Linked DNA regions of Homo sapiens: region 1 is linked to region 2. The links are contacts of gene promoters, found by promoter capture Hi-C in blood cells and fetal thymus (Javierre and others, 2016). All regions are on one chromosome and are shown on one strand. The core of a region is centred on a gene start or on the middle of the fragment in contact, and the rest is flanking DNA. Distances in the headings are between cores, read along the strand shown.

Region 1 (7,241 bases), core at 2,693-5,192, 700 kb after region 2:
CTTCTAGCTTTGGATTACATATGACTTGAGTGTTCAGCTCTGTCAGTCAACTTCATAGTGAATGTTAAAATTCATATTAGAATACTTGAGCCTAGAATTGTGCCAGAATTCATCATGGGCTCAGATAATGTTTCAACATCAGGATTTGTCCAATAGAAATCTCTCCTTGAACATGGACACCTGGAGACAATTCTGCATTAAATGCTATAGCTGCAGGCAGGCTTTCGCTGAGCACAGGGTGGACCTTCTTCATCACATGGACCTTATCGTGAGGGCTTGGGATTTTCCACTCAAGAATCCTGGGGCCAGAAGTCCAGTATAAAAGTTGTAGTCCAGGCTTGGCCATACGGAGGAAGGCATTTTCACTTCTAGTTTATCCAGCCCAGCTCCCACCCCTCAGACCCCAGCCACTGTTCTTTCGGCCAGGAGACTCCAGCACTGAGTTCTCTCCCATTCTTCACACAGATTTGCTCATCTCCATCATCGGCAGCCTTGGGAGTAGTCAGAACCAAGCTAATGATAGTCAGAAGGAGGACGGTGGAGGCCCATGAAATGAGGAACTTGCCCAAACAACCCCACGTGCTTTAGAAGAGGCAGGACAAGTCCCGAAGTCTCCTAGAAATAGAACAGCTCTCATGATATCTGAAAGTCATGGATTTTGAAAGATCAAAATTCAAAAGATAAAAACTTTGAATTTTGATCTTTTCCTGGGCTAGCATTGTGCGATAGGCAACTCTTGCAATGCCAGTCAGGAGCCACAAGCCGTTCTGGTTTTCACTTTTGATACAGAATTTGATAAATTACACAAGATATTAAACACTTTATTATAAAACAGGCTTTGTGTTAGACCATTTTGCCTAACGTAGGCCAGTGTTTAAGTTTTCTGAGCATGTTTAAGGATGGCTAGGCTAAGCTATGATGTTGGGTAGGTTAGGTGTATTAAATGTGTTTTTGAGTTAAAAATATTTTCTATTGGGCTGGGTGCAGTAGCTCACGCCTGTAATTCCAGCACTTTAGGAGGACAAGGCGGACAAATCACATGAGGTTAGGAGTTCAAGACCAGCCTGGCCAACATGGCGAAACCCCGTCTCTACTAAAAATACAAAAATTAGCGGCGCATGGTGGCACACTACTATAATCCCAGCTACTGCGGAGGCTGAGGTTGCAGTGAGCCAAGATAGTAACACTGCAATCCAGCCTCAGTGACAGAGTGAGACCCTGCCTCAAATATATATATATATATATGTATATGTATGTATGTGTATATATACACACACATATACATACATATATATACACACATATATATACATATATATACACACATATATATACATATATACACACACATATATACATATATATACACATATATACATACATACATATATATACATATATACACATATATACATATATACACATATATACGCATATATATACATATATACGCATATATACACATATGTATATACATATATATACACACATATATATACACATATGTATATACATATATATACATATATATACACATATATATATATATACATATATATATATATTTTCAACTTACAATGGGCTTATTGGGACATACCCCATCATAAGCTGAGGTGCGTCTGTATGTGCTGCTCAAGCTCTTGCGTATACCCACATAGTTGATGGAGGGCCACTGCACACATTTCCTGATATTCACTGTCTCAAGCTAGACGTCTGGGCTGGAGGGAGAAAATGAGAATTTCGGGAAGAAGATACAGATTTGCAGCCACGCTTTTTATGCATGATTGGTTTAATCTTTGCTGCTTTAATGTTAAATATTTAAATGCAAGAAATAATAGTAATGATAAATGTAGCTGCTAAGTGCAACAATCCACACTGTTAAATTTCATTCACATACTTCTAGTGAACACATATACATCCTTTTAAGAGTTCAGTTGTATGTCTCATAGAGCAAAGGAGAGTGAGCACTCACGCCTTCCTCTTAGGCAAAGCAGACCCTCTAGGGGATCTCCTTGCATCTGTCCCCCCTCAAACTGTGGTGGCAGTATTCCTGCCCTGACGTCAAGCCTCATGGTGTGGAGGGAGCTCCCGGCGGGGCCTCGCCACAGAGTTTTCCATGACCCCGCGGCACCCACCGCAGCTTTCCCACCCCTTTCCCAGCGGCGGCATTCAGGAAATGGTCCTGCAGATGTCTCTTCTGATGTCTCTTCTGATGGTGGTTGGGCTCAAGGAGTTGGCCTTGTGGAATTTCGGAAAGAGTTCTGCAGTCACCCACTGACTGTGACCCATCCTTGACATCATTTCCCTTTCACTGGATACTTGGTGAGCTCTGGCTTCAAATGTGAGGGCTTTCATTCCCTGAATGATTTGCAGTCTGCTCGTAAATGGAAATCTCGAGGCGCTAGATGACAGAAAGCAGCAGCAGGGCCATCGTGGTCCCGAACGCAGCTTGCCCTGCACCTCTCAGCCACTGCTGCGGACTCCAGCCAGTCTGGAATGGTGCCTAGAATGCTTGGACTGCAAAGGCGACGGGGGTCCTGTCCTGCCCAGTAACCTTTCACTACCTCTTAAAGTTTTTAGGATTCGTATGTGGAATCCTACCTCATGCTGAGCGTCATGTTATGCAATTGGCTAGTTCAGCATCCCATGACATTTTATTGAATTCAAACACCATGAATGAATAAAACAATTTCATTGCCTGTGAAGAAGTTACAGGGTTGAGGTGGAGAAGGAATTGCAGTTTCCCTGATAAGCATTGCTTGTTTCCCTTGGATGCACCCAGCACATGGAGGCTGCCATACCCAGTACACTCAGTGCTCAGTACCAAACCCGGTACCCGTACTCATTCCGTGCGTAGAGGAAGCCCCCGAGAGCTGGCAGCATCTCTGTGTGTGCTTCAGTCCATTGTGAAGATCCGTGATCCTAATATTTCAGATTGGAAAAATCCATTAAAATTTTGATTTAAAGATATGGATTCCATGTCAGCCACTGAAACAGGCCTTTGACAGTAAGAATTTTGATGACTGCTTATTCTAGGTATATTTTGTGTTAACATCAGTTTTTGTTGTTGGTAATTATATTTTCCCCCCACATTTAGAAGCTTCATGCTATTTTAACTTCAGCTGTCCTGGGTATTTGATTTGTATTTGAATTTCTGACTTAGCTATGACGGAAGCTTATTAGAGTATTTGCTTTCCTGAATCATGAACTTGTTTCTACAAGCATTGGAAGAGGAAGGGAAATAATTGGGTATTATAAAATGACTTTCTATCCACGCATTTTAAGGATTTTTTAAAAAGTATATGCTTGCTTTAGATAATGCATTAAGCAAGAATTTTAAGTTGCTCCATGCATGAAACCCTATTTCATGCCTAATTTACAATGCCTAATTTTGGTGCTAAGATTATTCTCCATGTTGTATTCTTTCATCTTTATAGACAATGGCACTTTGTTCTCCCTCCACAAATTCTGAATTTCATCATTTGGGGACACAGCAGTAGTCATCTCCGGCTTTGGCGTATGATTTTCCTTTTTTGATCAGTGCTCTGCATTGCACTGATGTTCAGGAATGAGAGCACAAGGTTCAGCTGCACGAAAACTTTCTGTGTAGTATTTTTCAAGTTTCTCGTTTCTTTCTTCCATTTTAAATAGTCTTTGCTGTGACAGACAATGGTTGTGGTTTTCATTTTTGCCTGACATGAAGTCTGTGGCCGCCATGGATTTTTGGACCTTGCCTTGAGCACACCATGGGAAACAGATGATCGAGGGTCCTGTTGCTCCCTGACTCTAACTGTGCACATTCTGCCTTGAGCTCCAGTGGAAGTGGGGGGTCACTGTGGTCACGTTAGTAGCATTGCCAGTTGCAGCTGCAAAGTCTGGCTTGGACCCTGCTAGCTCCAATAACCTTTGCACAACATGTCCAGCTCTTTGCTCTTCTTACAATCCTGGTGGAAATGTGCTAAAATCTTGGAGGAATAATTTGGCCCCATACTGCATGCTGGTCGCCAGCTAACTGTATAGCTGTTTAAGTGCTTATTCTGTCCGTTTGCTCTGCTCTGGTTCCCATAATAACCTTGGACAGGGTACAGAGTATTAGATTATTCGTGTGCACTTTTATCTGGACAAAAGATTAAGAACGTTAAAAAAATATGTGGGGAATGGCAAGAACCATGTCCATGGAGGAGTCACTTCCTTCTTAGCTCCTTCATTTCAAAGCTCTGGGGATACACAGATTGCTTAAACTTTCTGGTGACATTTGGGAAAGAATGTGTTCTTGCGGTAAAAGCAAGGTCTGGGAATTTGGATTTCTGTGTTCTGTTCCCAGCAGCACGAGGGGTCACCCAGTGACGTACGACAAGTCAGTTAAGCATCGGAATCTTAATTTCCCTATCTGTGAAATGGACATAGAAGGGTCGGTACCTTGGGCTGACATGAAGTTGGTGAATTGTTTGATGTTCTGCTGGGAACCGGCTTGCTCTAGTGACCCAGAAAAAACAGGGACTATGGTGGAGGCTGACCTCATTTCTATTTCTGGCTGTAGTGCTGACTCAGTGAGAAACTTGTAGAAATCAGTTAATCTGGCTCTGGTCCTCAGTGCATTCCATGGTTAAATTGAGAATTATAAAATCTTATCATCGCTGGTCTCATGGCGATACTGCCCATATTAATTAAGTACTAAAAATACTCCACCAAATGTATTAGAAAGCTTCTACATGGACCTGCCTTTCTCATTTCCTTCCTGTCTGATGTTGGGTTACTTGGGGCTACACAAGTCCATATTTATTTATTTATTTTAGCCGCTGTTTGGAGTTCAGTCCTATTCTGGTTTGAGCAGACTTTTCCTATATCCGAAAACTGGGTGCCCCAGATTGGTGACCTTGTGCACTGTAACTCCTTACAGCAGGATTTTCTGCCATTGTGTCCTGGGGCCATCACTGCAGGGTGTATTTAAGGAGCTCTTCATTTGAACAAGTCCTGGTCTGGGAATGTTTTTCCTTCCTCACTGTCACAGGCCTCAGGGAGAAGGAGCCAGCCTTCCCTGTCAAACCTTGGGATCAGGGCCCTCGTGGAGTCACGTCTGTGCTTCTGGCCGACTCCCTGGATGCTGCTGGCCTGAAGGGGCAGTGCCACAGTATGGGGCTTGAGGTTCTTTAATCCATTTACTGTTTGATTCAATTCTTTAGGGTTTGAAACAATCTCTCCCATATTTATCCACATACTGTGTCTAGACTCCTGACATATCCTTTCAACGAAACACAGCTCTATGGAGGTGTGGCGGCTGAGTCCCAGGTTCATAACGTCCTTCCTGCGTTTGTAAAAATGGAGCAGGCAGTTAATTCACCAGTTAAGTGCCAGGACTGGCTGAGTGGTTTGGAAAGAAGGACGACTTTGGATGTTTATGTTATGTGGTGTGTAGCTTGTCGGTTGATTTTTACTTTCAACTAATGCAACTTTGAGAAAGGCACTGAACACTAAGTAATCCTGCCTGTGATCTCCAAACTGTCTGCCTTATGTTTTTAAATCAGCTAACAATGGTTACTGAATCTACCCAATTCGTATGGTAAGGCTGCACTGAAGTCCACATGCTGTAAAGTAAATAGGTTTTCTTGATTTCTTACAATGGTTATGGGTTGTTGTTTTTTTTTTTTTTTTGAGACAGAGTCTCACTCTGTCTCCCAGGCTAGAGTGCAGTGGCATGATCTTGGCTCTCTGCAACCTCTGCCTCCCAGGTTCAAGTGACTCTCCAGCCTCAGCCTCCTGAGTAACTGAGATTACAGGCGTGCACCACTACACCCAACTAATTTTTGCATTTTTTAGTAGAGAAAGAGTTTTGCCATGTTGGCCAGGCTGGTCTCGAACTCCTGACCTCTGGTGATCTGCCCGCCTCTATCTCCCAAAGTGCTGGGATTACAGGCATGAGCGAGCCACCGCACCCAGCCCAAAAAATACTCTTGAAAGACATTTCTCATTAAAGCCCACCATCACCCCATGATGGCCCAAGGGAGGCTAAGCATCTTGCATGAGGTGCACACTGTGGACTCTGCCCACCCACATCTCCTAATGGTCTCTAAAGAGGAAGACGTCTTGGAGGCTCCATCACAGAATCTCAGCACTGAGGCTGTTGCTAACAAGAGAGTTCCATTGATTGAGCGAAATTATAACCAGTTCAGTGAAAAACACCTCGCTATTTGTTACTCTATTTACCCAAGAAATTATTTGGCATTAAGTACATATAAAGGATTGTGCTAGGAATGAGATATAAATATTTCCTGCCCTCAAGAGTTTAAAACACAGTAGAGCAAAACCACCTGAAGTAGTCGTTGCTATCTGTTTCCAGACACTCACTGTGGACTTGCGCAAGGCTGGATGCTGCTTAGATTTATTATGGGAAGTGGCTCATAGGATTATAGAGGCTGAGGAGTTCCATGATCTGCCGCCTGCAAGCCTGGGAACTCAGGACTCCTGAAGTGTAACTGGGTCCAAGGCCAGCGGCTGGAGAGCCCAAGGGGCTAGTGGTACAAGTCCCTGAATCTGAAGGCCAGAGAACCCAGAGTTCTGATGTCCAAGGGCAGGAGAAGATGGGTGCCCAGCTCCAGAAGAGAGAGAATTGGCCTCTCTTCTGCCTTTTTGTTCTATCCGGGCCTCAACTAACAATGACACCTGCTCACCCTGGGTGAGGGCAGATCTTCCTTACTGTCCATGTATTCAAATGCCCATCTCTTCCAGAAACACACCCTCAAAAACACATCCAGAAGTCATGCTTTACCAGCTCTCTGATTATCCTGTGACCCAGTCAACTTGGCACCTAAAATTAGGCATCACGGGCCAGGCGTGGTAGCCCATGCCTGTAATCCCAGCACTTTTGGTGGCCGAGGTGGGTGGATCACCTGAGATCAGAAGTTCGAGACCAGCCTGGCCAACATGGTGAAACCCTGCCTCTACTAAAAATACAAAAATTAGCCAGCGTGGTGGCGCACGCCTGTAATCCCAGCTACCCGGGAGGCTGAGGCAGGAGAATCCCTTGACTCAGGCAGTGGACTTTGCAGTGAGCCGAGATCGTGCATGCACTCCAGCCTGGGCAACAGAATGAGACTCCATCTCAAAAAAAATATATATATAGCCATCACAGTTGGTCACCAATTCCTTCCTCTGTTCTTTACTGCTGCCTTTTGCCTGACTGATGTTCCTCTTCTGTAGGGTGAAAGAGGCCTCCCGGGGTTACAAGGTGTCATTGGGTTTCC
Region 2 (6,565 bases), core at 350-2,849:
TCACTAACAGATTACAAACTCCCTGGGAGAAGATAGATTCTATGTGTCATATTTTCCATTCATTAGCAATTGCTCACTGAATTGAAATATTTGCTACTTCCCCACTATAGAGTGTTTCTCAATGTGTTTCATTCAGCATTGTACTCAACAAATGTTTGCTGTATGAAGACATGTCTGTGTTGAGTGTTTACACCACTAGTTAACAACTTCCCTTTGTTAAATCTTAGGTTTCTATTTTTTCGTTTTATTAACCAATGCTGCAATATGCTTTCTCGTGCATCAGTACTTCCCTAGACATCTAATTGCCTTGTTCAATTTGTGACGTAGAATTTTGCAAAAAGGAAGTTTACACAGCGAAAAACTATATATACAAATGAAATAAAATACATGATTTAAAAAGACCGCATATTTAGAAGCAAAGGAAATATTCATAAACATTGTGGTTATTCCTCAATAGTGAAATTACTGATGCTTTCATAATCAGAATAAAATTACATATGTAATAAAGTCCGTGATACTGTCATTCAAAATAGGGGATTTGGTACTCCCTTACATTTATACAGTTCTCAACAAAAAGCCTTTTATTGTTTGCTCTGTCTGGTCTTCTCGCTTATCTCTTAAACTTGCAAACGTATAGTCCTAGCCCACCGCACTCGGTTCCGAAGAAGGCGTCCCTCGGACAAAACCGAGGAATCTGTCCTGCTCTGTAAGGAACTAGGGCTTGCTGATTCCCAGATTTTAACGAGAATCCCTGCTCCCCGTAGGCGCTCCATAAATTTTTACTGGACAACTTCACCGCGCGCTACTGGGCCTCCGGGAGACCCGTGACTCCCACCCGCTCTGGGCGCGGGCCCGCAGAGCCTCAACCCGCGCCCCCGGCAGCCGGGATTCCCCGCCCGGACCGGCTCCCAGGCTGGAAACATCATGGTCCGCACCCGGGGCGCAGCCGAGACCCACCGCGCCGGAGGCCCCGGGACCCGCTCAGACCGCTGCTTGGCCACTCTACGCCCCTGAGCCCCCCACACAGCCAGCCCCGTGACCTCCGAGCCCCGTGACCTCCGAGCCCCGTGACCTCCAAGCCCCGGAAGCCGCTGTAGGCAGCGGCCCAGCCAGGCCCCGCCCCCTCCACCGGAGCTCCACGCGTCAATTCCAGCCAGGCCCCGCCCCCGGCCGCCCCAGGCGTGGACCCAAGCCAGGCCCCGCCCTCTGCCTGGCTACTCCAGGCGCCCACCGCCCCAGGCGTCCTCTAGCCCAAGCCCAATGCCCGGCTGCTCCAGACGTCGACAGCCCCATGCCCCGCCTCCTAATCGGCTGCTGCTGGCGTCCTCTGGTCCAGGCTCCGCTCCCTACCCGGCTGCTCCAGGCATCCTCTAGGCTAGACCCCGCCACCTACCGGCCGCTCCAGGCGTCCGCAGCTCCAAGCCCCGCCCTCCGCCCGGCTGCTCCAGGCGGCCTCCGGCTCAAGCCCCGCCCCCTGCCCGGCGGCTCCAGAGGTCCGCGGCTCCAGGCCCCGACCCCTGCCCGGCTGCACAAGGCGTCCTCTGGGCCAGGCCCCGCCCCCAGCCCGGCCGCTCCAGGCCCCGCCCCGCCCCCTCTGTGCGCGCTCCGCTCGGCAGCCTGTGGGACGCGACCGCGGCGCTAGTCTCGTTCCTTTGTGCTGCGGCGGCGGCTTCTCGAGTCCTCCCCGACGCGTCCTCTAGGCCAGCGAGCCCCGCGCTCTCCGGTGACGGACCATGTCGGCGGCGGGAGCGGGCGCGGGCGTAGAGGCGGGCTTCTCCAGCGAGGAGCTGCTCTCGCTCCGTTTCCCGCTGCACCGCGCCTGCCGCGACGGGGACCTGGCCACGCTCTGCTCGCTGCTGCAGCAGACACCCCACGCCCACCTGGCCTCTGAGGACTCCTTCTATGGCTGGACGCCCGTGCACTGGGCCGCGCATTTCGGCAAGGTGGGTGCGAACGCTTTAAGGCGCCATTTTCCCCGGCTGTCCAGTGGGAGTCGGGGAAAGCGGGTCTGAGGTGCGGGGGACGTGGGGCGTGCCGGGATCGCGGGGCGGAAGCGGGATCGACGGCGCCTGTGCCCCGAGGGGCCTAGGGCGCCTGTGCGGCAGCGCTCGCGGCCCGGAGTCGCGGCGGGGCAGCCGGGGGGCGCGGGGCGGAAGCGAGGTCGGTGGCGCCTGCGTCCGGAGGGGCCTAGGGCGCATGTGCGGCGGCGCGCGTAGCAAGTTTCTAACAAGGCGGGCTCCAAGGGTCCCGGCGCCTGTTGGCCGGATCCTGTGCGAGCGCGCGCGCGCGCGGATGGTGCGGGGCCCTCCAGGCCGGGCCGGAGGCGCGAGCGATTTCGCAGAGCCGGGTATTAGGCCGCGAAGTCGCCCAGGCGGCTTCCGGGGAGCCGAGCTGGGGTCAGAGGCGCGCGGGGAATGCCCGGGCGCGGTCGACCTTCTGGTTCCGCACAGCCTCGCCAGTAGCCGAGGGCCGCGCTGCGGACGAGCTCAGCCGAGGAGCAAGCGCCCCGGCGGGACTGGAAGGCCCCGGCAGCTGTGTGGGATGGAGGCCGGCTCTCCAGCTTCTGGGTTTGCTTTAAGGCTTGTAGCTGGCCCCGCTTCAGCAAAATTAGTGACGGCTGTGTTTATCTTGGATCTAAATTACTGCAGAAGTGGTTAAATTAAGCAGAATTCTCTTCCCGTGGAGGCTTTACGTTCCCCTCTTTTTTCTTAAACTGAAAATTCTGGGGGAACACAGTGCTGCTTTAAGGTTTTAAAAGGTTGGATAGCTACCGTTTCCTCATCTGTGAAGTCGTTGGGGTACTTGCTCTCAGAAATCTTAAATAAGATTTCACCGTGCATTTCAGAAGTGACTGGTTTTAATTAATATTTCTTAATTCACTGAAATTCAGGGATGTGTATAGTGTTTTTCTCGTAAGTGATGAGATGGGGTTAAATGGTTTTGCAGAAATATGTGAGAGGTAATGTGAAATAAGTTACTTTAAGAAGGCCTGGCCCTGGTAATGTCGTTACCAGCTGATGAAGTTGCGGTTTACCTTGCTGCCCCTGGTGCTACATTCACAAAGCAGCTGTGTCTTTTGGAAAGCAGTTTCTGATTCTTTTAAAGTGGAAAAGTCACTTTTCTTTCAATAAAAGAAATGAAAAGGAGTTTTGACGATCGGGGTGGGACAAGCAAGTTAATCAGTCCTCAAGGGCTGTTAGGTTCCTGTGGCACTGTCTCTGAAGTTGTGCAACCGTAGTACCTGCTGGAGAAAACAGGTGCCCAGGGGAAATGAGTTTCTTAACAAACAAAAGTAATAAAGCCTCCTCCCTGCGCTTCTGCGTGCAGCCTTAAATAGATTTCCCGAGGCAGTCAGTAATCTGAGGATTTCCTCCCTCCAGAGTGTCTCTTGCTGTGGTTTATTTTTACACTAAACTTTAGGATTCTGTCCTTTCTACCCTGGTTGAGAACGACACAATACTGGGTGATAGTCAGTGAACAACGATCTGTAGAATGCTTAAAGCCTCATTACAGATGGTCACTTAGAAAATTTAATCCAGTGGTGCCTCCACTTGTCTCTGGGGATTAAAATAGTTACTTTAAAATGGTAATTTTTAATGTGTATTTTATCACAGTTTTTTAAAAAACACCGACTGAAATCACTTTTCAAAAGTCTACTTCCATGGGACTTTGAGTAGTAGCTTTACCTTGGTCATCAAATGTTGTAACAAGAAGCAGTTACTTCATTGTTTCCAGCTGTCTGAATCATAGGGCTCTTTGGTCTTAGATACGGAAGGGGCCTTAGAAAGCCCCTGTCCAGTGTCCAAACATTCCCTTCTGAGAAGAAGCCGTTAGGACAGAAATCAGGCCAGGACTCAGGGCTACCGCTTGCGAAGTCCAGGCTTTCTCCCCAGCCCTGCTAACGGCTGCCCTCTTACACAGGTTTCAGGCTCGTGTTCTTAGAAATGTGCTAGTGGTGCACAAGATCCCCTAACCGTTGGTAAGACTCGTTTGTTGCCAGAGGACTAAACGAGTTGTTTAAAATCTCTGTTGTAGCTTTTATACCATATTGAACAGTATCTTTCCAGAATTCCAAATCCAAGTTTCTAAATTGAACCCAAGGGTAACAGGTTTAAAGCCAGCGAGCCCTGAATAGCTGATTTTTGGTACGCCAAGTGATTTTCATCCGTTTTATTTTTATTGGATTTGCAACCTGTTCATCTTATCGCTAATTAATACTTTCATTTTCACCCAGTGAATTAATAAAGGCAATAAATAGACATCAGCCTTTACTCCCAGGTCCAAGTTGGTTGAAGAGGGTGTTTTGAATCTGTGTACTCTTCATCTCACAGGAGTGTTTACTGAAAGCCTGAAAGTGCTAAGAGAAATGGAAAAAGAAACCTTGAGTTGAGATGGTAGTGTCAGGTGTTTTGTCTTCAGGTGAGGTCTCTCCTCTTGAAGAGAATTGCTTGCAGTCAGGCATAGCTTGTTCCCTAACTGCATTGTGATTGGAGTGAGGGAAAATGAGCAGTCCAGGATCAGAGAACGTGGGTTGAACAGTTGCTTGGCACATGGTAGGCACTTGGTAAATTTGTTGAATGCGCTAAATTATTTTAGCCAGAGGCTATCATGGTATTGGTGCTTGGCCACAAAGTCTTAACTTGCCATGTTAGTCACCCACTAGGTGCATTGCTCAGTTATGCTGTAGGCTTTTTTCCCCCATAGGGTTTTGAAAAGAGTAAAAAAATGTGGAGAATGGGGCCTCTATTGATTATTCAATGAGTATTCAGTGCTGGCTTGTGTAAAAGTGCACAGTTGTGCACACTATAGAAAATAGTCTTTGACTATGACGAGTTTACTATGGCTACACAAAGTTTGTGGGGTTTTTTGTTGTTGTTTTTTGTTTTTTTGAGACAGGGTCTTGCTCTGTTGCCCACGCTGGAGTGCAGCGGCGTGATCTCTGCTCACTGCAACCTCCACCTCCTAGGTTCAAGTGATTCTCCTGTCTCAGCCTTCTGAGTAGCTGGGATTCTAGGTATGCACTACCACACCCAGGTAATTTTTGTAATTTTGTATTTTTGAAACCCCAGTATGGGGTTTCGCCGTGTTGGCCAGGCTGGTCTTGAACCCCTGACCTCAGGTGATCCACCCGCCTTGGCCTCCCAAAGTGCTGGAATTACAGGCATGAGGCACTGCGCCTGGCATTACACAAAGTGGTGGTGGTGGTGTTGGTGTTTGAGATGGAGACTTGCTCTGTTGCCCAGGTTGGAGTGCAGTGGCGTGATCTCAGCCCTCTGCAACCTCCGCCTTCTGGGTTCAAGCAATTCTCCTGCCTCAGCCTCCCAAGTAGCTGGGATTACAGGTGCCCGCCACCACGCCCGGCTAATTTTTTTGTATTTTTAGTAGAGATGGGGTTTCACCATGTTGGCCAGGCTGGTTTCGAATTCCTGACCTCAAGTGATCCACCCGCCTTGGCCTCCCAAAGTGCTAGGATTACAGGCATGAGCCACTGCGCCCGGCCTACACAAAGTTTTTTAACCCACCAATCCCTTTAACGTTTTTGTTTAGAATAGTCTGTGCAACAAACAGTTTTGATAGAAGTCTTGGAACAGCGCAGTCCAATATTTTCTGATTTTGGCTTATTCAATTGTAGGGAAACAAATATTTAAATCTGTATAGTGTTAGTCGTCTTTTTGCATTTTTCTATTTCTATCTACCGTCTTTTTCATAAGGACAAGGGAATATGTTATCTTAAATGTCCTTTAAAATTTGCATGGCATTGGGAAAGAGTGACTTAATCTGTTAAAAAACTGGTAACAATGCCATTTGTCACCATTATAGAATTTCGATTATTCATGTAATATTGAATAGTGTACTGACATGTCTGCGTGTTTTCATTACCCCTCTTGTTTTCGAAGTTGGAGTGCTTAGTGCAGTTGGTGAGAGCGGGAGCCACACTCAACGTCTCCACCACACGGTACGCGCAGACGCCAGCCCACATTGCAGCCTTTGGGGGACATCCTCAGTGCCTGGTCTGGCTGATTCAAGCAGGAGCCAACATTAACAAACCGGTAAGAGTGCTGGTGATGGACTTGGTTTGCTTTTGCTTTTTCTTTTTGCAGTTATAATTATACACGGTATTGCTTTAAATCGAGGCCTTAATTAGAGTTTGATATCTTTACCTGAGGGCAGACTGGAATTTATGTTTCTTCAGTTGTTTGTGGAGGATAGTAGGCCCTTTCCATAGGAATGCTTTCTGTTCATAGAGTGCTTTCACCTGTTGTGTGATAAACTGATCCAGGGTGATGTGCCCAAGGTTATAGCTGGTAATTAAAGGAGCCTGGCCTTGAGCCCAGGTTTCCTGGCTTTCTACTCATAGCTGCCTTAGCCTCATTTCCACAGATAATTATGAAAACATTTTCATCCTGGGAAAAGCATGGCTATTAAGTCAGCTCCAAAGTGAGCTTCAGATACAAGTTGATGCCTTGATGCAGATAAGTGCTAAGTATCATTTACTAAGTGGGAAGAGTAAGTGACTTGAGGACTTGGTATTTAAACATACTGACAGGAACATAATCGTGCCAGA

What was found. The method cuts DNA at HindIII sites, captures the fragments that hold promoters and counts their contacts. A CHiCAGO score of 5 or more calls a contact.
Region 1: a fragment that was not itself captured here is called in contact with the fragment with the promoter of ANKRD10 in region 2 in 1 of 17 cell types (neutrophils); the score reaches 5.7 in neutrophils.

Annotation. Positions count from the first base shown.
Region 1 is chr13:110,213,972-110,221,212 of GRCh38, reverse strand. COL4A1 (collagen type IV alpha 1 chain) reads left to right here. Exons shown (of 52, transcript NM_001845.6): 3 at 7,198-7,241. Among named protein-coding and RNA genes, the nearest start is that of LINC03082, 88 kb to the right of the region's middle. The HindIII fragment of the contact is 1,530 bases long and covers 3,178-4,707 here.
Region 2 is chr13:110,910,103-110,916,667 of GRCh38, reverse strand. ANKRD10 (ankyrin repeat domain 10) reads left to right here and starts at 1,599. Exons shown (of 6, transcript NM_017664.4): 1 at 1,599-1,943; 2 at 5,898-6,050. The coding sequence starts at 1,734. RefSeq lists silencers at 758-917, 1,048-1,707, 1,978-2,347 and enhancers at 285-959, 2,458-2,587, 2,311-2,987. The HindIII fragment of the contact is 15,206 bases long and covers 1-6,565 here.